Regions from separate parts of the Homo sapiens genome. Here regions 2 and 3 are each linked to region 1. The links are contacts of gene promoters, found by promoter capture Hi-C in blood cells and fetal thymus (Javierre and others, 2016). All regions are on one chromosome and are shown on one strand. The core of a region is centred on a gene start or on the middle of the fragment in contact, and the rest is flanking DNA. Distances in the headings are between cores, read along the strand shown.

Region 1 (2,829 bases), core at 197-2,696:
GTTACAGAGATTTAAGACTGAGGAATGGAACTTTGTGGTACCGTGAAACAAGCACTGTGTTACTCTATACTATATACCTCTCTGTATTATGTATAGGAAAAAAAAACACTTTTGTAGTTTTAAAAAACAAACTATGAATAAATTAACTAGTCACCTGATTCGTTTTGTAATTAACTCCCCACTCCTTATTTAGTACTGCAACTACTAAATAAAATCCAAATACTACTTAAGAATACGAAAAAACAAAGGTATACTGTAAATTCACTTCTGAGACATTAGGGAATTGGAGAGAAATATTAAATTGATTTCAAACTCATTTAAGAAAAATAAAGCTCAAACTCTGATGCCAAAATTTATGAGTTTGCTCTTTACTAAAAAGTTGACCTGAGGCCGGGCGCGGTGGCTCACGCCTGTACAGTGCTGAAATCCCAGCACTTTGAGAGGCCAAGGCAGGTGGATCACTTGAGGTCAGGAGTTTGAGACCAGCCTGGCCAACATGGTGAAACCCCGTCTCTACTAAAAACACAAAAATTAGCCGGGCGTGGTGAAGCGCGACTGTAATCCCAGCTACTCGATACTCGAGAGGCTGAGGCAGGAGAATCGCTTGAACCCGGGAGGCGGAGGTTGCAATGAGCCGAGATCGCCCCACTACACTCCAGCCTAGGCGACAAGAGCGAGACTCCGTCTCAAAAAAAAAAAAAAAAAAATCACATGAAACAGTCTGTTACCTTAAATATATAACCTAAAACAACCATCCCTAAACTTCAAAGATGGCAACCTCAGTAACACAGTAGTAATTAAAACCCTACCGATAACTGAGTTAATAGGCACGTACAAAATGATGAAAAGCAGGATTTTATTCTGACCACAGGTGTTGTCAGAGACATAATGGGCCCTCCAAATACTGCCAAAAGTTACTGAAAATACGAAGTCAGGGTGATGAGTAAATGACACCCAGAGAAAATAGATGGGAGGAGTTCTGTTTCAGGAGACTGGAGTCAGGTACTGCAGCAGAAAACGCGACACAATAGTTAACCGGTCTGGAATACTTTAGAAAATGGCAAGAAGGGAAAAACTGACAAGAACATCTTAAAGTAAGAGGAACGGTATCCAATGGAATCATCAGGTCTGCGCGAGCACGGCTCCCGGACTTCCAGTGAGTGGGACAGGGTGGAACTATCACTGCGTGGGGAGAAGGACCTGGCTGAGGGGTGCATATGCTTTTGCAGGTGGTGGAGCGCCCGCAGGGGGATGGGGAGGGCAGTGTTGCCTCAATGGGGTTACTGTATTCCCTTCAAGACTATGGGAAGCTGATGCAGCACGTATCCCGGCACCAAGAGGCACTCGCCCCGGGCCCCTCCCTAACGACTTGCCTTGTAGAAAGAGTTGCAGGTCCCAGGCCCCCGGAACCCAAGGCTCCGCCATCCAGGACAACTGCTCTGCCAACGAGGTCCCGCGAGAATCGAGAGATCTCGCGATACAAACCCACTCGCATCTCGCGAGCTTCCACTAGACCCAACATGGCGGTACAGAAAAAAATCAGTATTTCGGAACTTAAAAAGCACTTCACTAACGGAGTAGTGAACATTTAAAACACTGAGACAGTAGGAAGTCTTTCCGCTTTATACGTCTCCTCCTTTCCCCTTGTACAGAAAAGCAGAAATCTTAAAAACCTCCGATTACCACGATTATACTACATAAACAGAGCGCAGTGCGCTGCCCCAGGCAGCCTCCCTGTCACGTGGAAACATTTTCGGCGTGCCCGTCACGTGGGCCGCTACTGAGCGAGCGCGCTCCCGACGCCCTCCCAAAAGCCCTCCCCGCCCCCCCTTTCGCCCGCGCACACGTGCGCGCGCACCCCCGCCCCACGTGGGGGCTTCGCCGTCGCAGCCGTCGCAGCCGTCGCAGTCGTCGCCTCCAGCCCACCCCCTCCCGGTACTTGGCTCCAAATCCGGGTCCCAAGCCGATCGTTTCCCACCCCCATTCCCTCCCCCTTCATTCTCCCTCCCCCGTGTCTGGCCCTCACCACGTGTCCCGAGCTCTTGCTCACCTTTCACGCGGGGTCGGACGCAACGGGCCACTTGGGGAGGCGCCGCCGCCGTGGCCGCTCTCCGCCCCCGCCACGGCACTTGCTCGGGTGGCCACCGCTGCAGGAAGCTCGATAGCGGCGCCGCGGCGCTTCCAGGTGGGTCCCCGCCTCCCGCTCCTGCCACTTCCCGCAGCACCAGCGGCTCCTTCCGGTCCCCTCCTTTCTCCTCGTTGGGACTGGCGGGCGGCGGCGGCGGCGGCGACCGCTGCTGCTGCTGTTGCTGCTGCTGCAGGCGCGCTCACTACACCGCCTGCTGGTAACCGCGGCCCGTGCAGCGCCCGCGGGTCGGGCGCCGCCGAGGCCCTCCCCGGCCAGTCCCTGCCCCTGGGCGAAGTTTGGTCTTCCGAGGGCGGGTTGCAGTCCATCCCTTGCAACCGTCCAACCTGGCCCTAGCAGAGGAAAGGCGTCCTCGTAGCTCCGCCATTGGAAATCGGCTTCATCCTGCCCTTTGTGGCCTCCTGAGAGATTTGTAAACCCCACCTCCCTTAGCACTGTGGTCTCAAGCCAGGAGAACATCCATACATGTATTTATGATCGTGCTTCTGCCTCGCCTCGTTCACCTCTGGCTTGTACCACAGCACGCAGGCTCGAACCACTTCGGGCCTTTGTGCTTGCCGATTTCTCTGGCAGAACATTTCCTCCAGATTTTTTTTAACTCCTCGATGTTCGATGCATATTTCAGGTCCCTTCTCAGAGGGCTGCCCAGACCACTGTATCCAAAAAAAGTACACCTGCACCAT
Region 2 (2,829 bases), core at 90-2,589, 1.4 Mb before region 1:
TTCTTGATAAGACAGTGGTACTTTTAAGGCCTTTATTCCTCTGGATTACAAAAAAGTAAGTTACCTATTCCTGATTATATGAAGCAAGTTAACTGTTTCAGGAACATCAAGAGACCTTTACCACATCACAATAAAACTCAAGGTCATTTTGCTCCAGGAGTACTTATACAGGTGATATTTGACGGTAGTACATATCTTGAAGAGAAAAAAAGTCATTTTGGCTAGGGTAAGCACAGCTAAAGTTTGACACGGCAGCTTCAATGAATCATGCCTCTTTTTATGGCACAATTAAATTTTTTGAGACCAACTGTGATTTTATCAGCTATCCAGGTCATCTGTAGGCAGGTCATGATTGTTACATGGGGTGGTGATAATTGGTACAAGGTCATGCCCTAAGCATGTTATAGACTAGTAGCCCAGCATTGCTAATCATTTTAAATCAAGACTACAAAATTCAACTGTAGCATTTCACTTCAGAGCAAAAACATTGCATTTGCTTGTTCATGTTGCTATTTCCCTTCCCCTCCATGTCTTTCTCTCCCCAATTCTCTCAATTTGATAGGCTGTAAGAAGCTTCGTACCCACCAAATGCAACCATATTTCCCCTCAGCTCTTTATTACAAACATGCACTTTTATCAAAAATTTTTTAAAAGACTGAAAATGAGACTCAGAATCTTTTATTTATCACAGAATGGACCCTGGCTCAGCTGCTTATTGACTGCGTAACCTTGTTTGAATCAGTTTCCGTACTTAGAAAATAAGGAAAGTAATACTTGCCTCATAGAGTAATTGTAAGGATTAAATGAATATATAAAATCTCAAGCTTAGGGTCTAGAACGTAGTATTTTTTCATAAATGTAAGTCTCTGTGTTTCTCAAATAGTTGTGTGCATAGGTATCACCTACATTGCTTGTGAAAGCTTCAGATTCTTGTGCTCATTCCCGCTCCCTAAGGATTTTGGTGCATAGGACTGGTTAGGACCTAGGAATCTGCAGCTGCACAGGTAGATGGTCTGAGGATTATAGTTAGAAGTGCCATGCTGTAGGTTCAAAGCAAATGGGCTGTATAACACATTCTTCATAAATTTCTGGGTTATGGTCAAATTTCCTACGTTTTTCAGAGAAAGAAATTATAGTGTTCAGGGGGCACTTAACTGGAAATAGGTAGCAACAGAAAACTGGATGTTGTTGAATTTATTTATTAATTCACCGTATGTTATTGGGCACCTTCTCTTTGGCAAACTTTCCCATAGCTGCAGGGAACACAGTGATAAACGAGGTAGAGATGGAGGCAGAGCACTAAGTGAGTAACTCCTTTTCCTGGGAGCCCAGGGCTCTATTACCCAGGGTATGCTGTCTTCAGCATAAGGATGACTCTATCAAGTAGGTCTGTAGATACTTCCAAGTCTTTACTGCCGAAACTCTCGCCCTTGCCCTAGAAAGGTGTTGGGTCTCAAAGGGAGTTGTCTCAGAGGAAGGGCAACCTGCAGCCTTTATTTTATTGGGACCAGACCCAGCATCCCTGGCTCAGATTCAGATTTACTGTTCTTATCATCAGATGTGGAATAAAGGCTTCTGGAACAGCAGATGTGGTTTTCTACCTATGAAAGTAACATTCTCTAAAGCCTAGAGGATGGAACTTGATCTCTAGGGATAAAAGAGCAACAGTTGCTCTTAGGATCTTGTCTAACAATTGGCTTAGTAGGTGCTAACTCCAATTCTCATCTACCTGCTCCATCTTGATTTTAGCCACCCATCTAAGCTTCCACTTGCCACCCTTTCTGTGATTATGCCAGCCACCGACTGTGCTCTCTTTGGTCCCTCTTGGGGCAGAGACAATCCAGAATGTTGGGAATTACCTGAACTCTCATCTCATTTGTCTCTCCAGCCATGTGTTAGGCTCTGTGGCCACCCACAATCTCAGGCCCAGCTGTTCTGTAGGACCAGCCCTAAGTGGCCCAGAGAAATATTTTCTTTGGGTTATATCCAGTAAAAGGATATGCGGATATGCTCGGGTCTTGTTGAGAGGCAGCCTGGTAAATGGAGTGAAAACACTAGAAGCAGGCAATGCCAATGTGAAGTCCCTCTGCTCCAGCCAGCTTCCCAACCTTGGCCAAGTGCCCACTTTCTCAGGAGTATCCCACCTCCCTTCCAGACCAGAAATGCCGTAGGGCTTGACAGCCAATTTGCGCTCTCTTTCCTACATCCTGACCTCTTTGACTCAGGTCCCGGAACTTTTGATCCGCAATTATGAATCTCAATATACAACCCCTTGATCATGACCCCTTGCCTCATGGAACTCTCTGTCTCCTCTGTCTAGCCCCTGCTAAGCTTCGTGGACTTTGTCACTAATCTACTTCACCTATGGTCTTGCTAAGTTGCTTCCTCTGTCACCTCCCTTCCCAGCCCACTCGAGCTCTGTCCTGCCACTGTCCAAAGTCAAAAGAGGCAGAACTACCTTCCTTACTTTATTTTCTTTCTCCTCTACTTTGCTCTTTCTTTCTCTTTACCAGAACAGAGCATCTGCAACCACTCTCACTGCATTTTTTTACCACGTTTTCTTCAGAGTCTATCTGAAAATGAAATACAGATTTTTTTGATAAATATATTTTCATACTGAGGTTGAATAAGAATCTGATCTTTATGATTCTTAGACTTGAAAAAATATATATTTTCTGAAGGAAGTAGACTGTTATCTTCATTATCACCTCCGTAAAATTGCAAATGGTCAAAACCATAAAAAATGGCTTTGCTCTATGTGTAATAGGCAAATGAAGGGAATTCATGGCAACTGAAACCCTTGCTTTAAAGTCAGCTCTTTGTGAATGG
Region 3 (2,829 bases), core at 218-2,717, 1.4 Mb before region 1:
GCAGTGGTCATGAGCATAGATGGAAGTCAGACTGTCTGGGTTCTGATCCCAGCCCTGGCACTTATTGCTAGGCAACCTATGGTATGTACTTAACTTCTCTGTGCTTCCGATTACTCATGTTTTTAAAGATTAAATTCAGGCACCATGCTTTAAGAAGCACCTGGCACATAGTATGGAATAGTTAGCTTACATCATGGGTTCCCAGCAGGGGTGATAGCACCCTCAAGGGGGCAAAAAGTTTAAATTCAGGAATGGTTTCATTAGGAAAACATTTGCTTAGTGAGGCTTCTTGTGGGGCTGAGGGGTAAGAGGGATGAGTGGAGAGGAAAAAAGTGGTCCAGAAACCCCTGGGTTGCACCAACCCCATTAAGTTGGACCTGATGAAGCATTGATAGAAGGAATCCCAAAAGAGGTTTACATGTTGTACTTGGAGGCCCGTAACCAATAGAGGGTTTAATCAACAGGCTTTTTACCTAGGGCCTGATGTAGGCTCCGCCTTAAGGCCATCACATTCACTGCTTGGTTATGTGCACAGGGAGGGAACCAGTGGAAGCCCAACCCCCCTTCCACAGGGTTCTTGAAGCTAGTCATGAAGGGAACAGAGGGAGGAGGGAATGAGTTGCTTTGCCTGCCTTGCCTGAGGTGGAAATGGCTGTGATAGATGTGGTGTGACCTGGGCAGAGTGAATAGTAAAAGTTCACATCTACCCAGGATTTTCTGTTTTTCAGAGTAGTTTCACACTCATTATCTCACAAGCACTCTTTCTCTTTTGAAATAGTTTTTAGTTACACATGTAGTAAAGAAATGCATTCCTTTGTAAGAAATTGAAGTATTACTGATAAAAGTAAAAATGCCCCATGAGCCACATCTGGTTCCAGTTCCCTGCTCCCTCCACAGGATTAACCCCTGTTAGCACTGTGTGTGTCCAGCACTTGTTTCTATTCATTTATGCTCAGGTAAGACTATTTTAAAAAGTACACTATTGCTGTGTAGATCCTTTAACACTAAGGATATCAAACTATATGTAATTTTCTACTTCAAGCTTTTTTTAAAATCATAATATGTCTTGGAGATGGTTCCATAATAAAACATTCAGATCTACCTCACTCCTTTCAATGACTGCATGCCCATGGAATGAATACCTCATTATTTATTTAGCCATCTTACTTTCTGGTAAATACTGATATTGTTTCTGTTTTGATTTTTTTAACCACAGCTACGAATGCCACCTCTTTGGGTATGTGGGTACGTGTCTACAGCTGCTCATTGAGGCAGATATTATCTTTACAGCAAAGGAGACTGAGGCTCAGAGAGGTGACACAGGCAGTGAATAGCATGTCCAGGACCAGAAGCCAGGTCTTTTTTGTTTTAAATCCAGGTTTGATGGATTTTCTTCCCTCATTCCACAGCTACCTCCCACCCTTATCTCATACTGGGACATTTGCATTTGGCAACTGATTTCCTAGCAGTAACATCCCTGGGGTGGCCCTACATGTCGCTGCTCCTTTTCTCACTGTAGATGATGGATCAGCTGCTGTGTGTCCCTGAAGGAAGGCAGCTTTCAGGAGGTGGACAGCTGTGTGTGAATAAAACAGGGGAGGAGGGGATCCACACATACCTGTCCTGACCTATTTACCGAGCGAGCTGTTGAGCCAAAGCAGCACCGTGTTATCTAACCACAGCTAAAATTTGAAAGGTCCAACTGAGAAATGTCAGGAGGAAGTAACACTTGAATTATTAAGGAAGTAGGTACTAAAGGAGATGGAGAAGAATAACCTATGAAACCGGCTTGTTTTGAGCAGGAAAGGAGGAGATGGATGTTCTAAGTGACCGCCATAACTTGAAAATAAAGTGGTTCCTGGGGCCTACTAAATGTTTAAATTTCAGAGAATCCAAGCTTCTTTTTGATGAGCCTTCTTCAGTATTTTACAACGGCATATCGAAAGGGTTTCTTAATTAAAATCCCCAGCACGTTGGAGGGGCGGGCTGATTGAGGCTGCAGTGCCTGCAGGCAGGGTGCCCACCTCCATCAGCCACGCCAGCCGAAGGGGCATCCTGCAGCTCCTCTGTCAGAGGGATTCCTGCCGGAGCACCTCCTGGCAGAGAGCATGAGGCCCGGCCAATTCAATGTGGCCTCGCTGCCCCAGCCCAGCCGGGACACTCCCCAGGACCCAATTAGCAGATTGGAAATCGCATCCAAGTATGTTACAATCACCAAGTTAAAGAGGAATAACAGACATGAAAGAATCAAGTGGGAAAAGAACATTTTGGATCCCGAAAGAGCAGGCTGCTTGTCGGAGTTCTAACGAACCGAAACAAAATAAGTAGTAGCTCCTTAAGCCTCTTTTCTAACACTGCTGGGATTGGTTAGTGTAGAGAAAAGCATTGAAATTGCAAAAGAAAAAAATGCTTATTGTTCCTATGTTCAATTTGTTATTTAATATAACTTGTTTTTTAGGAATTTAATAAAAAAAAAGGGAGGGCATCATTAATTTTACATTCTGCAAGAAAATGAAAAATGATCTGCTGATTAGTGATGTGCAATTTGTTCCTTGAACATCTCCAGTAATGTGTGAATGTCACATTACATAACACTTATAATGATTAAACCAGAAGATGAAATAAGATAGGATAGATCTTGTGTTCTTTCCTTGACTGGTGGACAACTCATCTCATTAATCTCTCTTTGGCTTGCAGCCTTAAATTGAATAAGCCGTGTTACTGGGGGAGATTTATGGCCAAAAGACTTAGCAGCCTCACTGAGGAAATCTTATAGCACCATTTTGAGAGCTCTCCAAGATAATTCTTGGGATTTGTATTAATTGTAGC

Evidence for each region. The method cuts DNA at HindIII sites, captures the fragments that hold promoters and counts their contacts. A CHiCAGO score of 5 or more calls a contact.
Region 2: a fragment that was not itself captured here is called in contact with the fragment with the promoter of ZZZ3 in region 1 in 1 of 17 cell types (non-activated CD4 T cells); the score reaches 5.8 in non-activated CD4 T cells.
Region 3: a contact is called between a fragment that was not itself captured here and the fragment with the promoter of ZZZ3 in region 1, in 1 of 17 cell types (total CD4 T cells). The highest score is 5.7, in total CD4 T cells.

Annotation. Positions count from the first base shown.
Region 1 is chr1:77,681,212-77,684,040 of GRCh38, forward strand. It overlaps ZZZ3 (zinc finger ZZ-type containing 3), which reads right to left and starts at 1,447. Exons shown (of 15, transcript NM_015534.6): 1 at 1,374-1,447. RefSeq lists enhancers at 1,503-1,582, 2,400-2,829, 2,603-2,702 and silencers at 1,963-2,382, 2,393-2,452. The HindIII fragment of the contact is 10,120 bases long and covers 1-2,829 here.
Region 2 is chr1:76,264,943-76,267,771 of GRCh38, forward strand. All of the region lies in intron 1 of ST6GALNAC3 (ST6 N-acetylgalactosaminide alpha-2,6-sialyltransferase 3), which reads left to right. Among named protein-coding and RNA genes, the nearest start is that of ST6GALNAC3, 190 kb to the left of the region's middle. The HindIII fragment of the contact is 842 bases long and covers 919-1,760 here.
Region 3 is chr1:76,289,289-76,292,117 of GRCh38, forward strand. The region is part of intron 1 of ST6GALNAC3 (ST6 N-acetylgalactosaminide alpha-2,6-sialyltransferase 3); the gene reads left to right. Among named protein-coding and RNA genes, the nearest start is that of ST6GALNAC3, 220 kb to the left of the region's middle. The HindIII fragment of the contact is 855 bases long and covers 1,041-1,895 here.